Regions from separate parts of the Homo sapiens genome. Here region 2 is linked to region 1. Evidence: promoter capture Hi-C in 16 types of primary human blood cells and fetal thymus (Javierre and others, 2016). All regions are on one chromosome and are shown on one strand. Each heading gives the region's core, a stretch centred on a gene start or on the middle of the fragment in contact. The rest is flanking DNA. Distances are from core to core; before and after follow the strand shown.

Evidence for each region. The method cuts DNA at HindIII sites, captures the fragments that hold promoters and counts their contacts. A CHiCAGO score of 5 or more calls a contact.
Region 2: a fragment that was not itself captured here is called in contact with the fragment with the promoter of SYN3 in region 1 in 1 of 17 cell types (fetal thymus); the score reaches 5.3 in fetal thymus.

What each region holds. Positions count from the first base shown.
Region 1 is chr22:33,055,580-33,060,484 of GRCh38, forward strand. It overlaps SYN3 (synapsin III), which reads right to left and starts at 2,802. Exons shown (of 14, transcript NM_003490.4): 1 at 2,713-2,802. The HindIII fragment of the contact is 6,835 bases long and covers 957-4,905 here.
Region 2 is chr22:32,520,647-32,525,551 of GRCh38, forward strand. The region is part of intron 12 of SYN3 (synapsin III); the gene reads right to left. Among named protein-coding and RNA genes, the nearest start is that of FBXO7, 48 kb to the left of the region's middle. The HindIII fragment of the contact is 1,640 bases long and covers 1,471-3,110 here.

The DNA of each region.
Region 1 (4,905 bases), core at 1,552-4,051:
ATCCCCTGGAGTCTGCAGTCTAAAGGGGAGGACCAACAATAGGAAAGTAAATAAAATAGATAAATGACTGTTACGAAGGGAGAATAAAAGGGAGGGAGTACAGAAGGCCTTTCCAAGAAGGTTATATTGAAACTGAAGGCAAGGAGTCAATTGGACAAAGAGCCTGTTATTCTCTATCACATACTGGCTATGCAATGCAATGTTCCACCCCTCAACACTTGCTTTTGATGAATCCAAGCATTTAATGTCTATCTCCTCTAATAGACTGAGCTTTCTCCCCATCACCTAGGATAGCGCCTACTCCTTAAGAGACACTCAATACACATTGATTGATTAATTAGTGGATGAATGAATGATTAATCAATCAATCCACCAATGAAAGCACTTTGGAAAGTGTAACAAATCATAGAGTTGTGAGTGATTGTTATTATTATAATTATTATTTTGTGGCAAAAGAACATCAACTTGGTTGGGTTTTGGAAGAGACTGGGTTTACTATAAAATGAGAATAAAAGTACCTAAGTTGGAGTATTATTGGACAACTAGAAGAGAATGTATATACATAATAGACACTCAAAAAAGGGAAGCAGTAGTCTTCGTGGCTATTATTATTAAAAGCTCCTCACAAAAGCTGACTCAACTCGAATTCCAAAACTCATTTTCAGGTGCAGTCATGAAACTTAAAGGTGAGAGAAATGAATACTTTTAAGATATCTACTATGCACCAGGCACAGTACAAAGCACTACTTCATTTGTGAGGTAGTGTAGTGGATACCGTGGGGAAATGCTCAACTCCCCCTCCAAGACCAAGACACTCATGACTTCCCCATGTCCAGCTGCCAGAGTGTTGGTTACCCCAGCTCCCAGGTGAGTCCCTAGTCAGGAACTGTCCTGCTGAAGGGACATCCTAGCTCCCTCCCTAGGACCAGCCTGCACCCACTGGCTGATCAACATTAAGCTTCAAAGGCCTCGTCTCTTTGTCTCATGGGAGGGATTGAGACCTCTCTTGCACTGCACCATAGATCAACATCTCCCTCTGCCCAGTTCTGCTTCCCTTATCTGCACAAAAATCTCAGAAGCGCCAAGTCTTTTTCCAGGGAACCCAAACCATGACAGGTGAGTACAATGATTTCCTTTTAAATCAGAAAAAGAAGGTTCATGAAGGTTGCTAATGTCCCCAAAGCCTATGGCTAAAGTGACTTTCTGGTCTGATTTCCCAGCGAGCCCTTGTTCTTTCTACTACACCAATCTACACACAGCCTTGCCTCCAATGGCTGAGACTGGATCTCTGTGAAACAGAAAGGGGAGCCCAGGCAGAGGGGAAGGGCACACAGAGGGCTTGAAGATGAGAAAAGAAGAGCAGAGGCACCCTTCAGAGGCCTGATGACAAGACTGAGGTCACAGGCTCCAGAAACAATATCAAAATGATGTGCAGGCTGCAGAAGCAAGCATTACACGGGCAGCATCTCTTTGCCTGAATCCATGTCCAGAAGCCAGGGAGCAGGGCTCCCGGGCAGAGGGGGCTCCCTTAAGCAGGGAAGAGTATTTGCAGCCAAGGACCAGAAAACAACTACAACTTACCAGCTTTCTGATGCTCCGGCCTCCATCCATTGTCCCCAGAGCTGCCAGAGGGACCTGATCACTGATCAGAATTCTTCCACGGCCCTCCTTCATTCCAGGATAAAATTCTAAATATTCTAAGGCTGCACTTTAAGGTCTGTGCAGGTTTTAGCTTCCTGCCATGTCGAGAGCTCATTTCCTACCTACAGCAAGACCCGGTCCTACTCCATTATCTGCTGTAGAATTATCTGATGTGCTAGGTCAGGACACCGGACCTTTTCAGTTTCTTTACCTTTACACAAGAAAACCCACCTGGAATTCCTGCTCCCTATCAACTCACAGTCCCAACACACTTTTCAGCCTGGCAAAACCTCCGACTTCCAGTCAATGCTCACCTCCTCTCTGAAACCTTCCTGGCTTCCTCACCGTCCTCTTCTCCATCTCGAGTCTTCCGCACTACCCTGCACTGCAATTGCTCCTCCTACTGTCCCTCTTAGCCCCAGAAGCTCCCCAAAGGCCATTCTTCATGCTGCTAGGGCTTGGCACAGTTCCTGGCACTCAGAAAAAGCCAAGTAAGTGCTGGATAGATACACGAGGTGCTGTATCCATAGCTATTCTCTGCTTCTAGCTTGGCCAGGAAACCACTCTGAAATTTCATCCTGCCCCCAGGATGACTGGAAATCGGAAATGGCATGACAAACCTGACCTCCCAAACCCAAGGCAACAGGTCATGAGGGGTCTGGGGACCTAAGGCAGGTCCTAGGAGCCGGCGCAGAGCAGAGGTCCGGCCGCTGCGGTTCCTGGTTTCCCGCAAGCTCTTCCCCGGGCCGGGCGCTGGGTGGAGGCAGTCTTAGGATCCACAGTCTTGCGCGCCCCCGGCTCCCGGGCCCGGCAGACGGCCCCCGCACGCCGATCTGTCTGTCCCAGGGACCGGCCCAGGGCCCCGGCAGCGGCAGCCTGGGGAGACACCGTGGTGCGCGGCTCCTTGCCTCCCTCCCTGCCCCTCCGTGCGCCCGCATCCCGCGGACACAGAGCCGGAGCTCCAGGGGACGCAGCCCGACGCGAGAACGCACCAGCAGCCCCCGCTCGAGGTGGGGTCTCCCGGCTGTCAGAAACCCCACAAAGTCTACTTTGCGGCGCCGCGCCGCTTACCGTGCGAGCCGCCAGGAACTCGGCGCCCGGTGGTGCCTCGGCGCGGCGCCCGCCAGTCGATCCGCTCCGGGTCCCGGGAGCTCAGCCTCTGCCCCTCAACGCGCGCGAGCGCCCCCGCCCGGCGGCCCGGCCTCCCCGCGCCGCGGCGCCCCATTGGCTCGGGCAACGAGGCCCCCGGACGGCCCCGCCCACCCGCGCCCACTCCCTCGCCCACGCCTCTCCCCAACGCCTTGCTGGGTTCACCTCTCCAGGCAGGGAAAGTTGCTTCTAGACTCTGAGCTCTCACCGGACTCAGGAGCCCAGTTAGCTAATAATTCTGGGTCCCAGGAGTGTCTAGACGCCCCTCGGGGAGTGCGAAGAATGCAGTGTCCTTGGAATCCACCTTTGGGAAAGTCAGCTGACCTCCCGGACCTCAGGTGGCACCTCAGAGAAACCAGGGCCCCTTGTCAGGAAATGTCCCAGGTTGTGGGCTAGGCCCTAGGGCCAGGATGCAACAGGGAACAAGACAAAGTCTATCGTCCTCGTGGACTTTGCATGGGGTGGAGGTGGGGGTAGGTTATATACAACAAACGAAAAAAACAAGAGAATGTCGGCTGGGTGCCTGTGGCTCACGCCTGTAATCCCAGCACTTTGGGAGGCCGAGGCAGGTGAATCACGAGGTCGGGAGTTCAAGACCAGCCTGGCCAAGATGATAAAACCCCGTCTCTACTAAAAATACAAAAATTAGCTGGGCATGGTGGCCCTCACCTGTAGTCCTAGCTACTCGGGAGGCTGAGGCAGAATTGCTTGGACCCGGGAGGTGGAAGTTACAGTAAGCCGAGTTAGAGCCACTGCACTCCAGCCTGGGCAACAGAGCTAGATGCCGTCTCCAAAAAAAAGAAAAGAAAAAGAAAGGGGTCTAGGACTGCTATACCTAGGGTGGTCTCCGGGCCGCTTGTGATATTGGATACTTGGAGGACAAAAACGATTCCAGGGCTGAAGCAAGAGCATTGCTGACAGAGGGGTCGGCCGATGCATGGTTCTGAAGCTGGAACTGGCCCCCAGGGTGGCTGAGTGAGGTGAGCAAGGGGAGAGTGGGTTACAGCCAGAGAGGTAGACTAGTGTGGAATCACCATCACCCAGAACCTTGTAGGCCACCGTGAGGGTCAGGGCTTTGTCATATCAATCTGGAGGGAACAATTCAGGCAAGAGATTATGGTGATGAAGACCAGGGTGGTGACAGCAAGATACGGAAAAGGTGGACCTCCTGCAATGTGTGTCAAAAGTAGCACAGGAAGGCTTGATGATGGATTAGGCTGGATTTAGGGGATGCTATGGTTTAAATATGTTCCCCAAAGTTCATATCTTGGAAACTTAATCCCCAATGCAACAGTGTTGAGAGGTGGGACCTTTAAGAGGTGATTCCATTAATGCCAGGAGTGGCCCTCTCCCCACCCCTCTGCTGCTCTCTTGTTCTGCCTTGTGCCATGGGGTGACTCAGCATGAAGGCCCTTACCAGATGCAGCCCCTCAATCTTGGACTTCCCAGCCTCCAGAGCCATGAGCTAAATAAATTGTTGTTCCTTATAAATTACCCAGTCTGTGATATTCTGTTATATTGGCACAAAATAGACTATGACAGGGGTTGACGTAAAGGGATGAAAGAAGAAAATCTCCTAGGTGTTTAGCTTGAGCCACTGTGGAGTAATGGTACTATTTCCAAGATCGGGAAGGTTCTTACCCAGCATCTTCCACTTACTGCATGAGCGTTAGTACATGATCTCAGTAACTAAGAGGGAGTGACTCTAACCTCAGTAACTAAGAGGGCATAAGACTAGCTGAAGGATCACAAACTTTAATACCGACGTGGCCGGGTAGTCATGTACTAAGTGAGGTTGGCAGGGTATAATAGAAAGGAGGGATGGGGCTTGTGACAGACTGAGGTATGCACACCTGCCTAAGGTGACAGTCACTGCTCAGCTCCAACTGATTTTTGCCATATGTGAATGGAGACCCACCCAGAGTTGCCAGATGTTCTGTTTTTTGTTTGTTTGTTTTTTATCGAGACTGAGTCCTGCTCTGTCACCCAGGCTAGAGTGCAGTGGTGCGATCTCAGCTCACCGCAACCTCCGCCTCCCTGGTTCAAGCAATTCTCCTGCCTCCCAAGCAGCTGGAATTACAGGCGCCCACCACCACGTCTGGCTAATTTGTGTAT
Region 2 (4,905 bases), core at 1,041-3,540, 540 kb before region 1:
AGCTGAAGCAGCTCTGAGCCAGATGCCAAAGGGGCAAGGACTAGATTTCAGCCAGCCTCCCTTACCAGATGTCACGTCAGCTGAGCACATTTTCAGAGGACATGCCACCTGTATAACCTCCATGACCTGTGGAGTCTGGTGGCCCTGACTCCACACTGGCACCAGGAGCCTCAGGTCCTGACTCAAGCCTTGCCATTAACTCGCTGTGTGACCGTGGGTAAGTCACTCCCCTTCTCTGGGCTTCTGGGCCCTCATTTGTAAAATAAGGTCATTGGACTGAACATCAAACATCCCTCCCGATCTGAACATTTTTGTGAGCTTGTGGAACACTAAATTGGATTAAATTGCAGCATCAGTTTAGCATCTGATTATATTACATGGCTTTGATTCATTACCTCTTTCATGATTGTATAGGCGAGTAGATGGGAGGTCACATTTATCTCAAACACCTCTAGGGCCAACCAGGTATGTAAATAAATAAAGCAGGCAAATATAAGAAAAGTAATGAGGCTTTCAAAAATTTGCCCACTTGAGATAAAAACAGTCCAGAGAACTATTTCTCTGAAGAGGTGCAAGCATAAAGAACATAGCAATTGCCCCTCTCTGTCACTATGGAAGTGAGGAGTAGGGCTGGAGGCAAACGCAGGAGCCCCTAGGAGCCCTTGCTCTGATCAAGGAAGCCGCTGTTAGTAACGCCAGGGACAGTTGCTGTATAGAAACACAGGCCCATTGTTTCTAGAGCTTCTGTGCTATCAAGAGATGCTGGAAATCTAGATGTTTAAGCAACACCTCTTGATTTTTTTTTTTTTTTTTTTTGAGACGGAGTCTTGCACTATTATCCGGGCTAGAGTGCAGTGGCGCGATCTCGGCTCACTGCAACCTCCTCTGTCTCCTGGGTTAAGAGATTCTCCTGCCTCAGCCTCTCAAATAGCTGGGATTACAGGCGTCCGCCACCACGCCCAGCTAATTTTTTGTATTTTTAGTAGAGACAGGGTTTCCCCATATTGGCCAGGCTGGTCTCGAACTCCTGACCTTGTGATTCGCCCACCTCAGCCTCCCAAAGTGCTGGGATTACAGGTGTGAGTCACCGCGCCCAGCTCACCTCCTGATTTTTAAATGTTGGTTACTTTTGGGTTTTCTAAACCCACCGCAGTTCAAATAAAACATTTGTTTTCTACTTTTATCTTCAGTTTCCCCTGATTCGCCTCCCTTCCCAGGTTGATATCTTAGAAAATGTGAATACCCATTCATTAATTCAGTAACTCTTTGTTGAGTCCCTATCATATACCTGGGATTTATCAAGAGAGACACCCTAGTTACTGGATTCAGAGACCAGAGTGCTAACCATTACCACTGCCCTAGTTATTTCTTTCGGCTTCTTGGCAAAGCAAACAATTTAGTATTTTTCATATGAGCACATACACAAAATATTAACATATATAGAAAGTATTTGCCTAAGCACAGACATGAAGCTTATTAAAAGAAAATTTCACTTTTACTGAGTTGAAATGAACAGCAAGTTCAAAATAATAATGTGATTTGTTAATTGGGGAACTCAATGAAAGCGTTGTTTTTCATTAGCCTTGTTATTTTTAATCTGAGCGTTAATTCACTGGGCATTTTCTTTAATTACCTTAATTGGTTTTAAATTGATTGTTTTTCAACTCACTAAAAGTGTGTTTAGCCTCATTTCCCTTAAAATAATATCTCTTTATCAAGCATGTTTTACTCTGGGCCAGAGAGGAAATCAGAATACAGTAGCTCTCTGTTTTAAAACGGCTCTGTTCAAATGTGCTTTTAAAAAGCAGGTCCCAGGGCAGAGGGGAAAGGAGGGTGTGGGGCAGAGGCACAGCCAGGAGCCTGGTAGAGTGAGGAATATGTAGTTTCGGAACACTTATTACTATAGAATTCTTGCTGGGTAACGGGGCACTGCATTAGTTACAAGGATTGTTAATAATAAACATGAAAAGCAATATGTATAAGACACACGTTATTAATAGTAAGCATTATGTCATAGTTATTCGTAGTAAATTATTAGTAGTAAGAACTGACACCTTCTACGCACTATCTCTGTGTCTGATGCCTTGCTAATTGCTTCACCTGCATTTATCTCATGGACAAGCACCCCATCCTTAAACATGGAAGCTGTTATTTCCTCCTTTACACTGAGGAAACTGAGGCCCCGAGAAGTAATATGACTTGCCTAACACTGCAAAGGCAGTGAGATACGGAACTGGATTCAAACACACTAGATCTGCCTGAAGGAGAATACTAATGTGTATTTTATACAGGCATACCTTGTTTTATTGTGGTCCATTTTATTTCAGTTTGCAGATACTGTGTTTTTTCTAAATTGGAGGGTTGTGACGACCTTGCATTGAGCAAGTCTGTCAATGCTGTCCTTCCAACAGCATGTACTCATGTGGTGTCTGTGCCTCACATTTGACAATTGTCACAAATTTCAAACTTTTAAATTATTATTATATCTGTTATGGTGATCCGTAATCAGTGATCTTTGATACTACTATTGTATTAATAATTGTTTTTGGGTGCCATGAACCACACCCATATAAGACAGTGAACTGGCCGGGCGTGGTGGCTCATGCCTGTAATCCCAGCACTTTGGGAGGCCAAGGCAGGCGGATCACAAGGTCAGCAGATCGAGACCATCATGGCCAACATGGTGACGTCCCTTCTCTACTGAAAATACAAAAAAATTAGCTGGGTGTGGTGGCATGCACCTGCAGTCCCAGCTACCCGGGAGGCTGAGGCAGGAGAATCGCTTGAGCCCAGGAGGCAGAGGTTGCAGTGAGCTGAGATTGTGCAACTGTACTCCAGCCTGGGCAAAAGAGCTAGACTCCATCTCAAAAAACAAACAAACAAACAAACAAAAAAAGACAGTGAACTTACTTGATAAATGTGTGTGTTCTGGCTGCCCCATTTACCAGCCATTTCCCTATCTCTCTTCCTGTCCTTGGGCCTCCCTTTCCCCTAGACACAACAATATTGAAATTGGACCAGTTAAGAACCCAATAATGGCCTCTAAATATTCAAGTGAAAGGGAAAGTCACACATCTCTTACTTTTAAATAAAAAAACTAGAAATGATTAAGCTTAGTGAGGAGGGCATGTTGAAAGCCAAGACAAGCTGAAAATTAGGCCTCTTGCACCAGAAAGTTAGCTAAGTTGTGAATGTGAAGGAAAAGTTCTTGAAAGAAATTAAATGTGCCACTCCAGTGAACACACAAATGATAAGAAATCAAAACAGCCTCATTGCTGATACGGAAAAATTTGAGTGGTCTGGAAAGAAGATCAAACCAGACGCAACATTGCCTTAAGCCAAAGCCTAATCCAGAGCAAGGCCCTAACTACTTTCAATCCTATGAAGGCTGAGAGAGGTGAGAAAGCTAAAGAAGAAAAGTTGGAAGCTAGCAGAGGTTGGTGGGTGAAGTCTCAGGAAAGAAGCCATCTCCATAACAAAAACTGCAAGGTGAAGCTGCAAGTGCTGACGAAGAAGCTGCAGCAAGTTATCCAGAAGAACTAGCTTAGATTATTGATGAAAGTGGCTGTGCTAAACAACAGATTTTCAGTGTAGATGGAACAGCCTTCTATTGGAAGAAGATACTATCTAGGGCTTTCATAGCTAAAGAGGAGAAGTCAATGCCTGGCTTCAAAGCTTCAAAGGATAGGCTGACTCTCTTGTTGGGGCTAGTGCAGCCGGTGACTTAGAGTTGAAGCCAGTGCTCATTAACCATTCTGGAAATCCTAGGGCCCTTAAGAATGATGCTAAATCTACTCTGCCTGTGCTGTGTAAATGGAAAAACAAAGCCTGGATAACAGCATAGTATTTCCAATATGGTTCATTGAATATTTTAAGCCTACTGTTGAGACCTAGTGTTCAGAAAAAAGATTCTTTTCAAAATATTACTGCTCATTGACAATGCATCTATCCACACAATAGTTCTGATGGAGATGTACAAGATAATTTTGTTTTCATGCCTTTTAATACATATCACGTCTTTTAGTTCATGGATCAAGGAGTAATTTAAAATCTGAGGTCATATTATTTTAAAAATACATTTTGGCCAGGTGCAGTGGCTCATGCCTGTAATCCCAGCACTTTGGGAGGCCGAGGCGGGTGGCTCACAAGGTAAGGAGTTCAAGACCAGCCTGGACAACATGGTGAAACTCCATCTCTACTAAAAATACAAAAATTAGCTGGGCATGGTGGCGCGTGCCTGTAATCCCAGCTACTTGAGAGGCTGAGGCAGGAGAACTGCTTGAACCAGGACCCGCGAGGTGGAGCTTGCGGTCAGCCGAGATTGCACCACTGAACTCCAGCTTGGGCTATAGAGCGAGACTCTGTCTCAAAAAAAAAATTTTTTTCATAAAGCTATAGTTGCCATAGACAGTGATTCCTCTGATGGATCTTGGCAAAGGAAATTGAAAACCTTCTGGAAATGATTTACCTTTCTAGATGCCATTAATAATATTTGGGATTCATAGGAGGAGATCAAAATAGCAACATTAACAGGAGTTTGGAAGTTGATTCCCATCCTTATGGATGACTGTGAGGGGTTCAAAACTTCAGTGGAGGAAGTAAGTGAAGATGTCGTGGAAATAGCAAGAGAACTAAAATAAGAAGTGAAGCCTGAAGATGTGATGGAATTACTGCAGCCTCGTGATAAAACTTGAATTGATGAGGAGCTGCTTCTTATGGATAAGCTAATAAAGTGACTTCTTGAGATGTAATCTACTCCTGATAAAGATGCTATGAAGGGGCCGGGCGCAGTGGCTCATGCCTGTAATCCCAGCACTTTGGGAGGCTGAGGCGGGCGGATCACGAGGTCGGGAGATCGAGACCAGCCTGGCAAACACGGTGAAACCCCGTCTCTACTAAAAAATA